Regions from separate parts of the Homo sapiens genome. Here all the other regions are linked to region 2. Evidence: promoter capture Hi-C in 16 types of primary human blood cells and fetal thymus (Javierre and others, 2016). All regions are on one chromosome and are shown on one strand. Each heading gives the region's core, a stretch centred on a gene start or on the middle of the fragment in contact. The rest is flanking DNA. Distances are from core to core; before and after follow the strand shown.

Region 1 (4,649 bases), core at 658-3,157, 420 kb before region 2:
CCTCTGGCCCTTCACAGGAAAAGTTTGCCAAAAAGAATAATATCATCTGTAGTCAGAGAAAGCAAATTCATGGTTGCCTAAGGCTATAGGTGGGAGGTAGCTACAAAAGGGGGGCAAAGTTACAGAAATCTTTTTTAATTTTTTTATTTTTGTGGGTACACAGTAGGTATGTATATTTATGGGTTATATGAGATATTTTGATAATTACAGAAATCTTGATCAGGGTGCTGGTTATAAAGATGTACATATTAGTCAAAATTCAAAAATCTATTAAAATACACATGTTGTATGTAAATTATACATCAATAAAATTGACGAACAAAGATATCAATCGTCCTACTGAAGCATGAGGTATAAAGAAAAATATGTAAATAATTCATAATTTACTAAAAAATGGTCTTTTTTTTTAGATGGAGTCTCACACTGTCGCCTGGGCTGGAGTGCAATGGTGCAATCTCGGCTCACTGCAACCTCTGCCTCCTGGGTTCAAGCAATTCTCCTGTCTCAGCCTCCCGAGTAGCTGGGATTACAGGCGCCCACCACCACGCCTGGCTAATTTTTTGTATTTTTAGTAGAGACGGGGTTTCACTATATTGGCCAGGCTGGTCTTGAACTCCTGACCTCGGGTGATCCACCCGCCTCAGCCTCCCAAAGTGCTGGGATTACAGGGATGAGCCACTGGGCCCAGCTTAAAAGTGATCTTAAAAGGTTAATACCAAAAGAAAGAAAAAGGAATAGTGTTTTTGGTTTGCACTGCAAAAACCGGCCATAGGAGTTTTTCTAGTATCCAGTTTCGGGCAAATTTTCCCTTGGAAAAATAAAACATTAGAATTCTGATTTTTTTCGTTGTTGTTGAGATGAAGTCTCACTCTGTGGCCCAGGTTGGAGTGCAGTAGTGCGATCTCAGCTCACTGCAACCTCTGCCTCCCAGGTTTAAGTGATTCTCTTGCCTCAGCCTCTCGAGTAGCTGGGACTACAGGTGTGCACCAGCAATGCCCAGCTAATTTTTTTTTTTTTTGAGACGGAGTTTTGTTCTTGTCACCCAGGCTGGAGTACAATGGTGCAATCTTGGCTCACTGCAACCTCCGTCTCCCGGGTCCAAGCAATGATTCTCCTGCCTTAGCCTCTCAAGTAGCTGGGATTACAGGTGCCCATCACGTCCAGCTAATTTTTGTATTTTTAGTAGAGACAGGGTTTCACCATGTTCACCAGGTTGGTCTCGAACTCCTGACCTCAGGCAATCCACCCACCTCAGCCTCCCAAAGTGCTAGGATTACAGGTGTAAGCCACCAAGTCTGGCTAATTTTTGTAATCTTTTTTTTTTTGGTAGAGACAGGGTTTCGCCATGTTGGCCACACTGCTCTCAAACTCCTGACCTCAAGTGATCCGCCTGCCATGGTCTCCCAAAGTGCTGCGAGTACAGGCAGGAGCCACCGTGTCCAGCCCAAAATGATTAAATGTTACCCAATAGGTCTGCCAACAATCGAAAGAGAAGCAATCCCATCTCTTTTTCACTGTCTATTTTTAGGGCCAAAATATATGTGTTGGCAAAAATGCTGTGGCATATACAAATGGCACAATTCCAAAATCAACTACTCAACTCTGCTCAAAAGATGTAATTCCTGATGGAAAATGCAAGCATGACTTCTACCTGAGCCCAAGGTAATTTTCTTACCTTTTCCTTTTTGAGACAGGGATTCAGTCTGTCACCCAGGCTGGAGTGTAATAGCGTGACCACAGTTCACTGCAGTTTCAACTTCCTGGAGCCATGCAATCCTCTCACTTCAGCCTCCTAAGTTGCTGGGACTACAGGTGTGTGCCACCACACCCAGCTAATTCTATTTTTTGTAAAAATGGGGTCTCACTATGTTGCCCAGGCTAGTCTCGAACTCCTGGGCTCAAGTGTTCCTTCCACCTTGACCTCCCAAAGTGGTGGCTGGGATTACAGGCATGAGCCACCATGCTTGGCCTAACTTTCTTAAAAATGTACTTTTTAAAAAAAGTATCAATTCTGCATATAGAAAGGGTGTAATCACTTTTCTGTTTGCTGAACACAGCGCTTAACCATGAGTGATTCCAGAAGAAAAGCCTGTGTGTTGGGCCGGGCACGGTGGCTCACGCCTATAATCCCAGCACTTTGGGAGGCTGAGGTGGGTGGATCGCCTGAGGTCAGGAGTTCGAGACCAGCCCGGCCAAAATAGTGAAACCCCATCTCTACTAAAAATACATAAAATTATCTGGGCATGGTGGCAGGCGCCTGTAATCCCAGCTACTAGGGAAGCTGAGGCAGGAGAATTGCTTAACCCAGAAGGCGGAGGTTGCAGTGAGCCGAGATCACACCATTGCACTCCAGCCTGGGCCACAGGAGCGAAACTCCCATCTCAAAACAATAAAAAAAAGAGAAAAGCCTGTGTGGTCCTTGGGCCTCTCAGATCCACTGTCAGCCTTCCTCTGTGCCGCTGAGTCGGAGGCCAGCCTCTGCAGGCTGACTAAGTGTTCCAGGCTGCTGGATCACCTTGAGTATCAGGTGGGTTTGTCAGTGGAAGGCACTAGTGAGACAAAAGGTGCTCCACCAAATTAAGACCTACAAGACAGTGATTCTACAACTTTTTTTTTTTTTTGAGGCGGAGTCTCTCTCTGTCGCCCAGGCTGTAGTGCAGTGACCCGATCTTGGCTCACTGCAACCTCCGCCTCCCAGATTCAAGCCATTCTCCTGCCTCAGCCTTCCGAGTAGCTGGGACTACAGGCACATCCCACCACGCCTGGCTAATTTTTTGTATTTTTAGTAGATACGGGGTTTCACCATGTTAGCCAGGATGGTCTCAATCTCAGGACCCTGTAATCCGCCCGCCTCAGCCTCCCAAAGTGGGGGGATTACAGGCGTGAGCCACCACTCCTGGCCTGATTCTACAACTTCTAAGACCAGCCCCTAGCCCCACAAAGTGATAACCCAACACTTAACTTAAAATTTGAGTAAAACAGAGAGCTAAACTAAGTGTCAGAGTCAGGTCCAAAATCCAGCTTGGCCGCACCTGTTTGCACAGTCTCTCTGTTCTCTAGGCCTGTGTCCTGATATGTACAATGACCTCTAAAGTTCCTAGTTCTCAGGCCACATTTTAGCATTTACACACTTCTGCATTCAAGCATCTCTACTGAGCTGCAGACTGCTGCCTAACTTTTTAAATGAGGTAACTGCTCTGAAGTTGAAAAAACAATTGACTAGAAACTGGAAAACCTGTGTTCAAGTTGAAGCTCTACCTCCAATATGCTGTAAATTCAGACGAGTTCCTTAACTTGACCCATAATTTGTGTCAGCTCAGTTTCTTCATTTGTAAGACAATCTAATTGTCTGGCTAGGTGCTCTTTAGTGTTCAAAACAAAACTCATTACCTTTCCCAACACACTCTATCTCCTGAACTCTGATGTTGTTTACCCAGTTTCCTAAGGATCCTCCAAGATCCCAATTCCTCCCTCTTATTCATTATGGACCCCATCTCTGCCCCTGCTCTAATAGCTACAAGTCATGTTTGCTTCATGTCTCTAAAACCCAAACACTGATCTCAGTGCCACTGACCTGACACAGTTCAGACCACACACCTCTCACCTGCTCTATCAGCCACCCAGTAGCCATCTCCCTGTCCCATTCTTTCCTCTCTTCAATCCATTCCCCATATTGCTGCCGCAGTTACCTTCAAAACACAAAAATTACCCTATCACTTCCTTGTCTAAAATCCTCTACCAGCTCCCAGCATGCCTTATAAGTGAACAACAAATTCATGTAGGCTGTGAGCCACCTTCCTAGACTCCCCACAGGCCCTATTGGTCACCCTCTCCAGTGTGACCACGTGACTTTGTGCTGCAGCATCCTTTGGCTGGGATGCCTCGCTTCCTTCTCAGATCAGTAACCTCATCCTTGAGGATGGAAAGGCTCATATATCACCTCTTCTACCCCAGCTCATACTGGTGTTTCTCCTTCGTGCTCCTTGCTATACCTCCTTAGTATCACTTAGCGTGGTGAATTCTATTATCTGTTTTTGTGCCCATCTTCCAGCAGAATGTGTCCTGACATCCACATAATGCCTGCTCTATGACGTAAGTGAAATATACAATTTAGAGTGCAGGCTCTGGAGCCAGAGTGCCAGGGTTCAAATCCTAGCTTTCTTGCTGTGTCACCTTAGGCAATATACTTAAATCTCCCCAATCCTATGCATATATAGCTGAAAAAAGTAGAAAACAATAGTTTAAACATCAAAAAGTTATTTTTGTTTTGTTTGGGACAGGGTCTCCCTGTCACTCAGGCTGGAATGCAGTGGCAGGATCAAGCGATCCTCCCGCCTCAGCCTCCCAAAGTGCTGGGATTACAGGCAGGAGCCATGGTACCGGGCCCTCAAAGGGTTATTAGAAAGACAAAAGATAATGTACATGAAGTGCTTAGCACTCTCCCTGGGGTAGCAGTGATAGAAAAATACAAATAATCATAATATTAATAGTAACAGCAGCAGCAGGAGAAAAGTAATATTAATAGCTAACACTGACTCAGCCCTTACTGTATGTGAGGCATATGCAGAGACCCTTACACATGCCACTCATTTTGCGTCCACTACATCATGCGTTGGGTACTATTATTGTCACCATCCCCATTTTTGCGT
Region 2 (4,521 bases), core at 428-2,927:
CCAACTTACTGCCATTATTTTTCTTCTGAATGTGTCCCTGGGTGTTTGCAGTGCGTGGGCTTTAACACTGGGCATGGAACACAAATAGCTCCAATGCAGTGAGTTCAATGTTATGGCTGGGACATGTTTAAAGTGCCTTGAAGACAAAGAGGAAGATGTTCTGCTTGGGAAACTGGGAGAAGAATTTTCAGCAAGGATACTTGAAGTGGGTCCTGAATGATAAAAATAATTGGCCAAGTGGAGGTGAAGGAGAGTGTATCACAGGAAGAAGGAACCTCAAGGACAAAGGCAGCCAGGCATGAGATTAGACATGTTAAGCCATCCTGAATGTCTGAAATGGGGGGTGGGGAGCAAGAGGGATAGTCCAGACAGGCAGGAAGGCGTGAGATCATACAGTACTTTGTTAACACTATCCCTGATTTAATAGCTGTATTGGCTATTCTCAATGACACAGAATGAAGTAAAATGTTGTCGAGGCCTGAATTATTACCTGGGATCTCTGGAGAACTGGATTTGCACAGCTCTCCACTTCCCTCAAGCTGGTTCTTCCGCTCTTTGAATGAATAAATAAAAAGCATTCACATGGAATTCTAGTGCCATCTAGCATTTAAAAAGGTAAAAGCCTCCAAGAGGAAATTATTTCTTAACACTGCATTTTGAACATGGCTTTTCCAGAGATAATTCCTCGTGCCACTGGTAACGGGCTTTGATTTCTTCTGCCTGTCACTTCCTCCAGATTCGATTCCTCTTTGAATCTCAAATGCTCTCACAAGATTCAGCTCTTCCCTTTTGAAGCAATTATTACGTTTGATAATTTTACGTCTATTTTATGATGATGATCTGATTAAAGTCATCTTTCCCACTAGTTTAATTTCTATAAGGAGGGGCCTTGTCTGTGATTTGCCCACCATCGTCTCCCAGCACCTGGGAACATTTCTGGTTTCCTGCAATACTGTTGAAAGAACAATGCCTCTCTATGCTTTCTTAAACTTTGTTAGTGATAATTTCTACTTCTACCTGGACTTTACTTAAGGGTAATCCTTAATAAACTTTATCAAAACTTAATAAACTTTATCAAAACTTAATAAACTTTATCAAATGTCTGTTGTAATCGTCACAAAAAGATTTAATACTCAACATCTGGCCTTAACCAGAGGGAAACATTTTCTAGCCCAAGTTTTCCCCTTAACCGGCTGAGTCGGGGAAGGATGTAATTTTCAGGCAGAGGTGACTTCGTTCCAAGGGTGTGAATGCATTATTTTTGACGCTGCCTGTAAGAGCAGGGTCGCTGACACTGAATAAACAGCGCTATCCTCTCCAACGATAAAAGTGGCCAACATCTCGTGCTAGCAATTCCCAAGTGCGTCATGAGCATCCCCGTCCTCAGAAACGTGAGACGAAGGCGGCATGCGCAGGCACTGGGCTAGACGAGCCCGAGGTTGAACCACTCGCGTTCTGGGCCCCGGAGTCCGAGACAGGCGGGGACCCCGGCAGCTCCCGGTGCTATCTCTGAGCGGGTTCCGAGCCCCACTTCCGGGCGGTCAGAATTAGCCTCAGAGCGCCGAGCAACGACGCGCCGGGGACCTCCCGCCCATGAGGCCGGAAGGGGCGGGGAGAACGCTGCGGAATGGTCCCTGGGCGCAACGTCATTTCCGCGTACGGGGGAGGGCGGGCCTGGAGTCTGAGCCGGCGCCGCTCAGTGTGAGGTGGTTTCTGCGGGTGAGGCTGGCGCCCGTACCATGAGCGAGGCGGACGGGCTGCGACAGCGCCGGCCCCTGCGGCCGCAGGTCGTCACAGACGATGATGGCCAGGCCCCGGAGGCTAAGGACGGCAGGTAGGGCGGACTCCCAGACTGGGCGCTGGAGCCGGGCCGCTAGGAGTGGAGGGCGACCCTCTTGGACAGCGGCGACGGCAGTAACAGTAACCTGGGGATGCGGTGCCGAGCGCGTTGTCAGAGTCCTCTCGTTTCATCCCCAAGAAAAACTCATTTTTCCGAGGAAGCAGGCTCCGACAAGGCGGATGTACCTGCCAGGTCTTTCAGGTTCGGGTGCACCCTGCGCCCAGTCGCCGCGTTGTCCTCGGCTCTCCGGACCCGAGACCGCCTCGCGCCGCTCCTTTGCCTTCCCTCCCTCACTCCTGCCCCACCCTGCATAGCGGTTGCTTCCTCGCCTTTCCCTCGCTCCCCTCGCGCTGTCCTTCCTTTGGCTTAAATGATCCCCCTGAGCACAGCTACTTGGCCGGGGCCCTGCGTGTTCCTGGTTCCCCGCTCGCAATTTCCCGAAGGGAGGAGGTCCCACGAGATGCTGGGGTCCTGCCTCGTTATCCGGCGAAGAGATGGCTTCTACACTTGCTCTTCTGCACCTGCCCCCCTCACGCTGCGTGACCAGTCCTCACCGCGGTTCTTGGAAAGAGTGGAGAACAGTAGTGACATTGTAGGCAATTTTTGTGAGAATTCAGCCTGGCAGTTTTTCCTGATAGGGATGGAGAAACATAGGAAACTGTAGTTGTTGACACCTAAGAAATATCAGGTTTTGCCCTTTGCCTCCTCTCCCATCTTTCAGAATATAAGAATGCTGTGTTTTGTTAGCTAAAAACTGAATCATGATTCGTAAGCATAGATTTCAATATAAGATACTTAAAATTCACTTTTCAATTCTGTGTCCTGAATTTCATAACTTTTAAGTTTCAGGGAGAATCAAGAGGCCCCATAGACCAAGCTTGAAGTTGTGGGACTGATTGACTTATATTTGATAGAAATACTGGAAATATTTGTTCATCAGTAGTGTGCCAAGAGGTGGTGGGGTACATATGAATGAGAGGCAGTTTTTGCCCCTGTAGACTGAGTTTATTGACTGATGATAAGAGGAACACATTTGAAGGAGAGCGATGGCAGGAAGGAGCATTTAGGCTCTAGAGAGGCAATTTAGAGAGAAGACTTTGCGGTGATAGTTGACTCCTTGGGCCAGTGAAAAGATCGGGAAGATGCTCCCATATATCCTGACCAACCATCCTGCGTTGCCCTGGACTGGGGTTTCCAAGGATGTAGAACTTTCAGTGCTAAACCTGGGCAAACTGGGACAATCTGATCACCCTACTTACTGTGAATATTGTGAATTAATCATCTGTTGATGATTGAGGAGCCATTTAGAATGGACATGCAAGAATTGGCAACACTTTCCTACAGAAATCTTGAAAACAAGGCATTTTTACCTGAGAAATGGAAGAGCAGTGGCCTGAGTTTGTCATTAGGTGCAGTGTGTTGAAAACCAGGGCCTACAGCCCCTGAGGGCACCGGTTAGGTAGTCCCAACTCTCAAGTTGGCTGGCTCACACTTCTGGCCCCAGGGCAAGCAGGCAGACTTAATTGTTTTTTTCAGGTTCTCTGTGGGGATTTCTTCCTTAATGAGTAAGTAAATCTGATTCTAAAGTCATCTTTTACTGCCTGATCTTTTCCAGTGTGCCTTTTACATTTATGTTTACTTATTTCCTTGACTTCCCTGTCCATGAACATTGTTCCTGTTTCCCTGTGTTTGTCCTTCTTGTTTGTTTATCCCTTTTCTGTATATCTGTAATGATCTCTTTCAAAGTGAGGTCTTGTCACCACCCTTCCTTTCCGCAATTATTATTGTAACATGGTAGCTGTTTTTCTTATTTTTCTTCTGCATTTCTCCTATATTTTTCATTTATTTTGTGGTCATTTCTAGTAGTTCATGTAATAGTATTCTTGATTACCTTAAAAGTCGAGGGTTCAACATAAGCCAGGAAAGCCTGTGTATAGTGGGCGAAGTAAAGGAATCTAAATTCAGAAGTAAAAACACGAAACTATTAGAATAAACTTTAGCACTTTAGATGTGCTAAATAGAATAAAGGAAGCCTTGAAAGACATATTACTAAACTGACAGAACTAAGACATAGATTTTAGCAGTGGTAGGGACCCCTAGTAATACGTTGGGTGGTCTCCCAACTCTTGGCACAAAAGGTGGGTGTTTGCTTTGTTTTGCTGATGAGATCATTGAGGTCTATGTGTGTGAGGTGGTTTATATGAAGTTACAGAGAATAGAGTCAAAAGAGAAATGAAAATGAATGAAGAAGGATAGAACTGGCAGCTGGACAATGACTGAGAAGTGTATTTTTAAAATTATGCTTTGGAAATAAGACTTTATGCCAAAGCTCTTGAATTACTGTATTTGAAATATAATGGAGAATTTGGTTGGTAAATTCTTTTATTCAGTGTGGAACATAGATGAGCTAAGTACTTTAACATACCGGTGCAAGCTTATAATTATTATTTGACATTGATTTCCCGAAATGCTTTAGAAACTTAATTGTACTCTGTGGAACTATTCCTTTCTGTTTGAAACACAGTTCTATCTAGGAAGAGAACTGTTTAATGTCCATATGTGACTGTTTAGGGATGCAGAATAAATACATTGAGGATTTAATATGTTTCAATACATTAAATTCTGTATAATTCTCCTTTTTCAATAAACTTCTGAAGGATTTTAGTTTAATTAAAAGTCTG
Region 3 (4,235 bases), core at 732-3,231, 330 kb before region 2:
TTCTTAGGGCCGCTCAAACAAACCTGCAAACTGAGTGGCTTAAAATAAATGTATCCTCTCATGGTTGTGGAGGCTGGGAGTCTGAGGTCGAGGTGTGGGTGGGCCCAGCTCCTCCTGAGATGCTGAGGTGGACCCTTCTTGCCTGTCTGTCTGGCAGCATTCCCGGCTTGGAGAAGCTTCCCTCAAATCTCTGCCTCCATCTTCTCCATCTTCTTGGTCATCTTCTCATGGTCTTCCCTCTGTCTCTGTGTCTAAATGTCCCCATTTTATAAGGATACCAGTCATGTTGGGTTAGTATCCACCCAGTGACCTCATTTGAGCTTGATTACCTCCATAAAGACACTGTTTCCAAGTAAGGTCACACTCTTAGGTACTGGGGGTGAGGCCTTGAACATAGTCTTTTTTGGGGAGCACAACTCAGCCCATAACAGGGCAGGCGGGCCTCCCAGGCCTCTCAGGGGCCAGGCTCATTACCTCCCTGACTTCCTGTCCAGCCAGCCAGGAGGCAGGGCTGTGCAGCCGGGCTGCCGGGTTCAAAGCCAGTTCTTTTTTTTTTTTTTTTTTTTTTTTTTTGAAACAGGGTCTCTCTGTCACTCAGGCTGGAGTACAGTGGTACAACCTTGGCTTACTGCAGCCTTGACCTCCTGGGCTCAAGTGATTCTCCCTCCTCAGCCTCACAAGTGGCTGGGATCACAGGTGCATGTCACCTTACCTGGGTAATTTTTATATTTTTTGTAGAGGTGGGGTTTTGCCGTGTTGCCCAGGCTGGTATCAAAAAATCCAGCTCCGTCATGTGAGCTGGCAATCTAATAGGAGCCATCAGATGGTGATGGTGGTGGCTTGCCTCAGAGACTGTGCAGCCTGGCTCAGCTGGAGCTAATGGGGATGTGGATCATCTCCTTTGCCATTTTTTATTTTGAGAGAAACTTCTTACTAAAATTTTGAAGATGTATCTGCTTCCTGGGAAAGAGATGGAGTAAGAAGGTGGGGTATGAACAGCAGCCCTGGTGGTAGGAACTGTCTCCCCACATGGTCTGGGACAGACGCTCAGGGAGTTTCTGGGAAGGAGTGTGTATGTCCCCATGTCCTCGTGAGTCCAGCCTGGTGACATTTGAGGAAGTGAGGCTAGATGTGCAATGTGCCACATGGACATGGGAGTCACGCAACCCCTGTCTTCACCAGAGACAGCTGTCAGCAGCAGAGCTTCCCCGGGGGCAGGACCCACCAGAGGGAAGCCAGGCCCACACTGCTCTCTGTCATTGCCTCTTTTGGGAGTTGCCATTTTATAAAGCAGGCAAATCCCACCTCAGGGTTCATGCGTTTATTTTAAATTTTTTGTTTTTCAGTTAAACTTATTTTAAAGTTGTGTTCACCAAAAGCAGTAAGACTACAATGGTATATAAGGAAAAAATTGCCCCCATTCTCCCCACACACACACTTTGAAGCTGTGTGAGCAGCCTGGCTTCTGTCTTTCTGTATATCCTCCCAGCCACATGTGGAGGTCGTGTTTCATTTGCATGTTTTTACAATAACAAAGTGGGGCTACCGCACCCGCACCCACAGTCACCTTGCTCCTCTCATCTGCCCGCAGGTCCTGGAGGTTCCTCCAGGTCTAAGGGCCCCATGGTCTTCCACAGTGTGAGGTGCTGGTTAATTCACTCGCTGTCCTGCTGGCAGATGACCTGGTAGATGCAGGACTTCTGCTGGGCCATTGCACTGACTTCATTCTGCTCTGCATGGGTCCTATGGATTCATCCCCCTCGCTGCCCCACACCTCACCTTCTGCTGTCTTTTCTGTGTTAGGCAGCAGTCCTGGAAACTTTGGAATCCCCTTTACCTTGTTTGCCACCCAACGTTCCGTTGGTCATCAGGTCCTGCAGCGCCATCCCCTTTCCTGCTGTCCTTCCCACTCCACCAGGCACCTGAGTTATTCGCAGGCTCAGCCTCCCCAGCCTCCCTCCTGGCTGGCCCATCCTTCAGACCTGTTGGGGATCTTTCCTTCCCTCATTTGCATCTTCTCACACCTAGAATGACCTTAGACCTTAGCGTTCCAGTCTCTACACAGACCTTGCCCTCACTGCAGTCTCTGTCCCTGCCCATGCTGGCTGGCCTCAGCCCATACCCTGCCTGAGGCTGGGCCTGCAGGTCTGGCACCATTGTAAGATTGCACAGGAAAAGGACTTGGTGCTTTCTGAGAGCTTCTGCAGTGTGTGCATGTGGGTGTGCATGTGTGTGTGTGCACGTGTGGATGCATATCTGTGCACGTGTGTGAGTATGCATGTTTGTGTGTACATGTGTGTATTCATCCACCAGTAATCCTAATTTCCATCTCTTTATTTCCTACAGTAAGAGTTCCCTATTTCATTGATTTGAAAAAACCACAGGATCAAGGTTTGAATCACACGTGTAACTACTACCTGCAGCCAGAGGAAGACGTGACCATTGGAGTCTGGTGAGTGCCAGTGAGCTCTGCAGCCCCTCCAGCAGCAGGAAAGGACCCTACATGACTGAGCTGGTGCTGTCTTTGACATTGGCCTCTGAAATGTTGTTCATTTTTATCTTCACCTCTTCCTTTCCTAAAGGAAAGATCTCAGTACATTTGATCCATCCTAATGTTGAGGGATTCAATGGCTTTAAACTCTATTCCCAGCCTTTCAAAACAGCAAAGGCTTTGTGAACAGATTATTATTTTTAGAGAGACTTGTTTCTAGGAAAAACGAAAAGCAAACAAAGAAGCTAGAAACAGGATATAAGTGGCCGGCACAGTGGCTCACACCTGTAATCCCAGCACTTTGGGAGGCTGAGGCAAGTGGATCACTTGAGTCCAGGAGTTTGAGACCAGCCTTGGCGACAAGGTGAAACCCCATCTCTACTAAAAATACAAAAATTAGCCAGGCATGGTGGTGCACACCTGTAATCCCAGCTACTTGGGAGGCTGAGGCAGGAGGATCACTTGACTCCAGGAGGCAGAAGTTGCAGTGAGCTGAGTTCACGCCACTGCACTCCAGCCTGGATGACAGAGCAAGACTCTGTGTCCAAAAAAAAGAGAATATAAGGGAAGAATCACAAACACTGGTTTGAATATATCTTCCATCCAGGCGCGGTGGCTCACGCCTGTAATCCCAGCACTTTGGGAGGCCGAGACGGGTGGATCACTTGAGATCAGGAGTTCGAGACCACCCTAAACAACATGGTGAAACCCCGTCTCTACTGAAAAAAAAATACAAAAATTAGCTGGGCATGGTGGCACGCGCCTGTAGTCCCAGCTACCCGGGAGTTTGAGGCAAGAGAATTGCTTGAACGCAGGAGGCAGAGGCTGCAGTGAGCTGAGATTATGCCACTGCACTCCAGCCTGGGCAACAGAGCGAGACTCTTGTCTCAAAAAAAAAAAAAAATATATATATATATATATATCTTTTCCAAGAGGTGAACATCTAGATACTGAAAACAGCTTGATTTCTTTTCACATATAGCTTCGCACCAGCTGATGATGATGGTGTTGGCTGTCTTCTGAGTATTTACTTTTTTAAGCCATAAGTTTACACTGGACATAAGCCTTGTGACTTCTCTGTGTCTCCTTGGAATACATTTTAATGTTTTCTTCTGTACACAAGTGGTGCTTCTGAACAGCTGAATTAAAATTGACCAACCTCACTGTAGCATTTCCGTTTTTCTCTGAGAAGTGAGCCTGAATCACAGCCCTTTTATCTAGCTGAATTTATTTTTCAGTAGCCATAACGTCGCTTTCCACTGTCTCAGAAAACCACTGTGTATGTGAGAAGCTTCTAAATGAAATGCTGTGAGTAGCTTCCCAGTGTGGATGAGAGAACATTCAGACATTTCTAACAGTGGTCCTTGGTAAAGAACATAAAACAAGAAGGGAGATTTTTGTTCTTAGTAGTTGGTGCTGGGATTAAAGTCTTTTGTCACTTCCTGATTTGATTTAATCTAGCATTTACTGACCAATGTGTGACTGTGGGACTCCTCAGGTTTCTGTCTGAAGCATGACTTGTTTTGCACAGAGCTGCTGAGTGGGACTTGGTCAGCCCTCTTCTTGGTTAACATGAGTCTGTCCTATTGCAGGAGGGTGTTTATGGTGGTGAGACTTAGGCTGGAAGTACTAACAACTCCTGCATACATTATCAGCTACCAGAAAAGGTTTTGTTTAGTGATGTCAGTGGCAAGTGTCAAGGCAGTGACAGCCACGCTGTGTGTTGCTGTGTGTTGGTGGGTGC

What was found. Contacts are between HindIII fragments. The CHiCAGO score rates a contact against its expected background, and 5 or more counts as called.
Region 1: a fragment that was not itself captured here is called in contact with the fragment with the promoter of APMAP in region 2 in 3 of 17 cell types (total B cells, monocytes and fetal thymus); the score reaches 7.0 in total B cells.
Region 3: a fragment that was not itself captured here is called in contact with the fragment with the promoter of APMAP in region 2 in 1 of 17 cell types (monocytes); the score reaches 5.2 in monocytes.

The regions. Positions count from the first base shown.
Region 1 is chr20:25,408,313-25,412,961 of GRCh38, reverse strand. The region is part of intron 1 of GINS1 (GINS complex subunit 1); the gene reads right to left. Among named protein-coding and RNA genes, the nearest start is that of GINS1, 3.0 kb to the right of the region's middle. RefSeq lists an enhancer at 4,143-4,649. The HindIII fragment of the contact is 5,539 bases long and covers 1-4,649 here.
Region 2 is chr20:24,989,907-24,994,427 of GRCh38, reverse strand. APMAP (adipocyte plasma membrane associated protein) reads left to right here and starts at 1,677. Exons shown (of 9, transcript NM_020531.3): 1 at 1,677-1,834. The coding sequence starts at 1,740. RefSeq lists enhancers at 1,123-1,623, 1,536-1,775, 1,906-1,985, 2,006-2,065, 1,624-2,124. The HindIII fragment of the contact is 12,703 bases long and covers 1-2,719 here.
Region 3 is chr20:25,321,542-25,325,776 of GRCh38, reverse strand. It overlaps ABHD12 (abhydrolase domain containing 12, lysophospholipase), which reads left to right. Exons shown (of 13, transcript NM_001042472.3): 3 at 2,347-2,452. Among named protein-coding and RNA genes, the nearest start is that of ABHD12, 67 kb to the left of the region's middle. The HindIII fragment of the contact is 3,606 bases long and covers 179-3,784 here.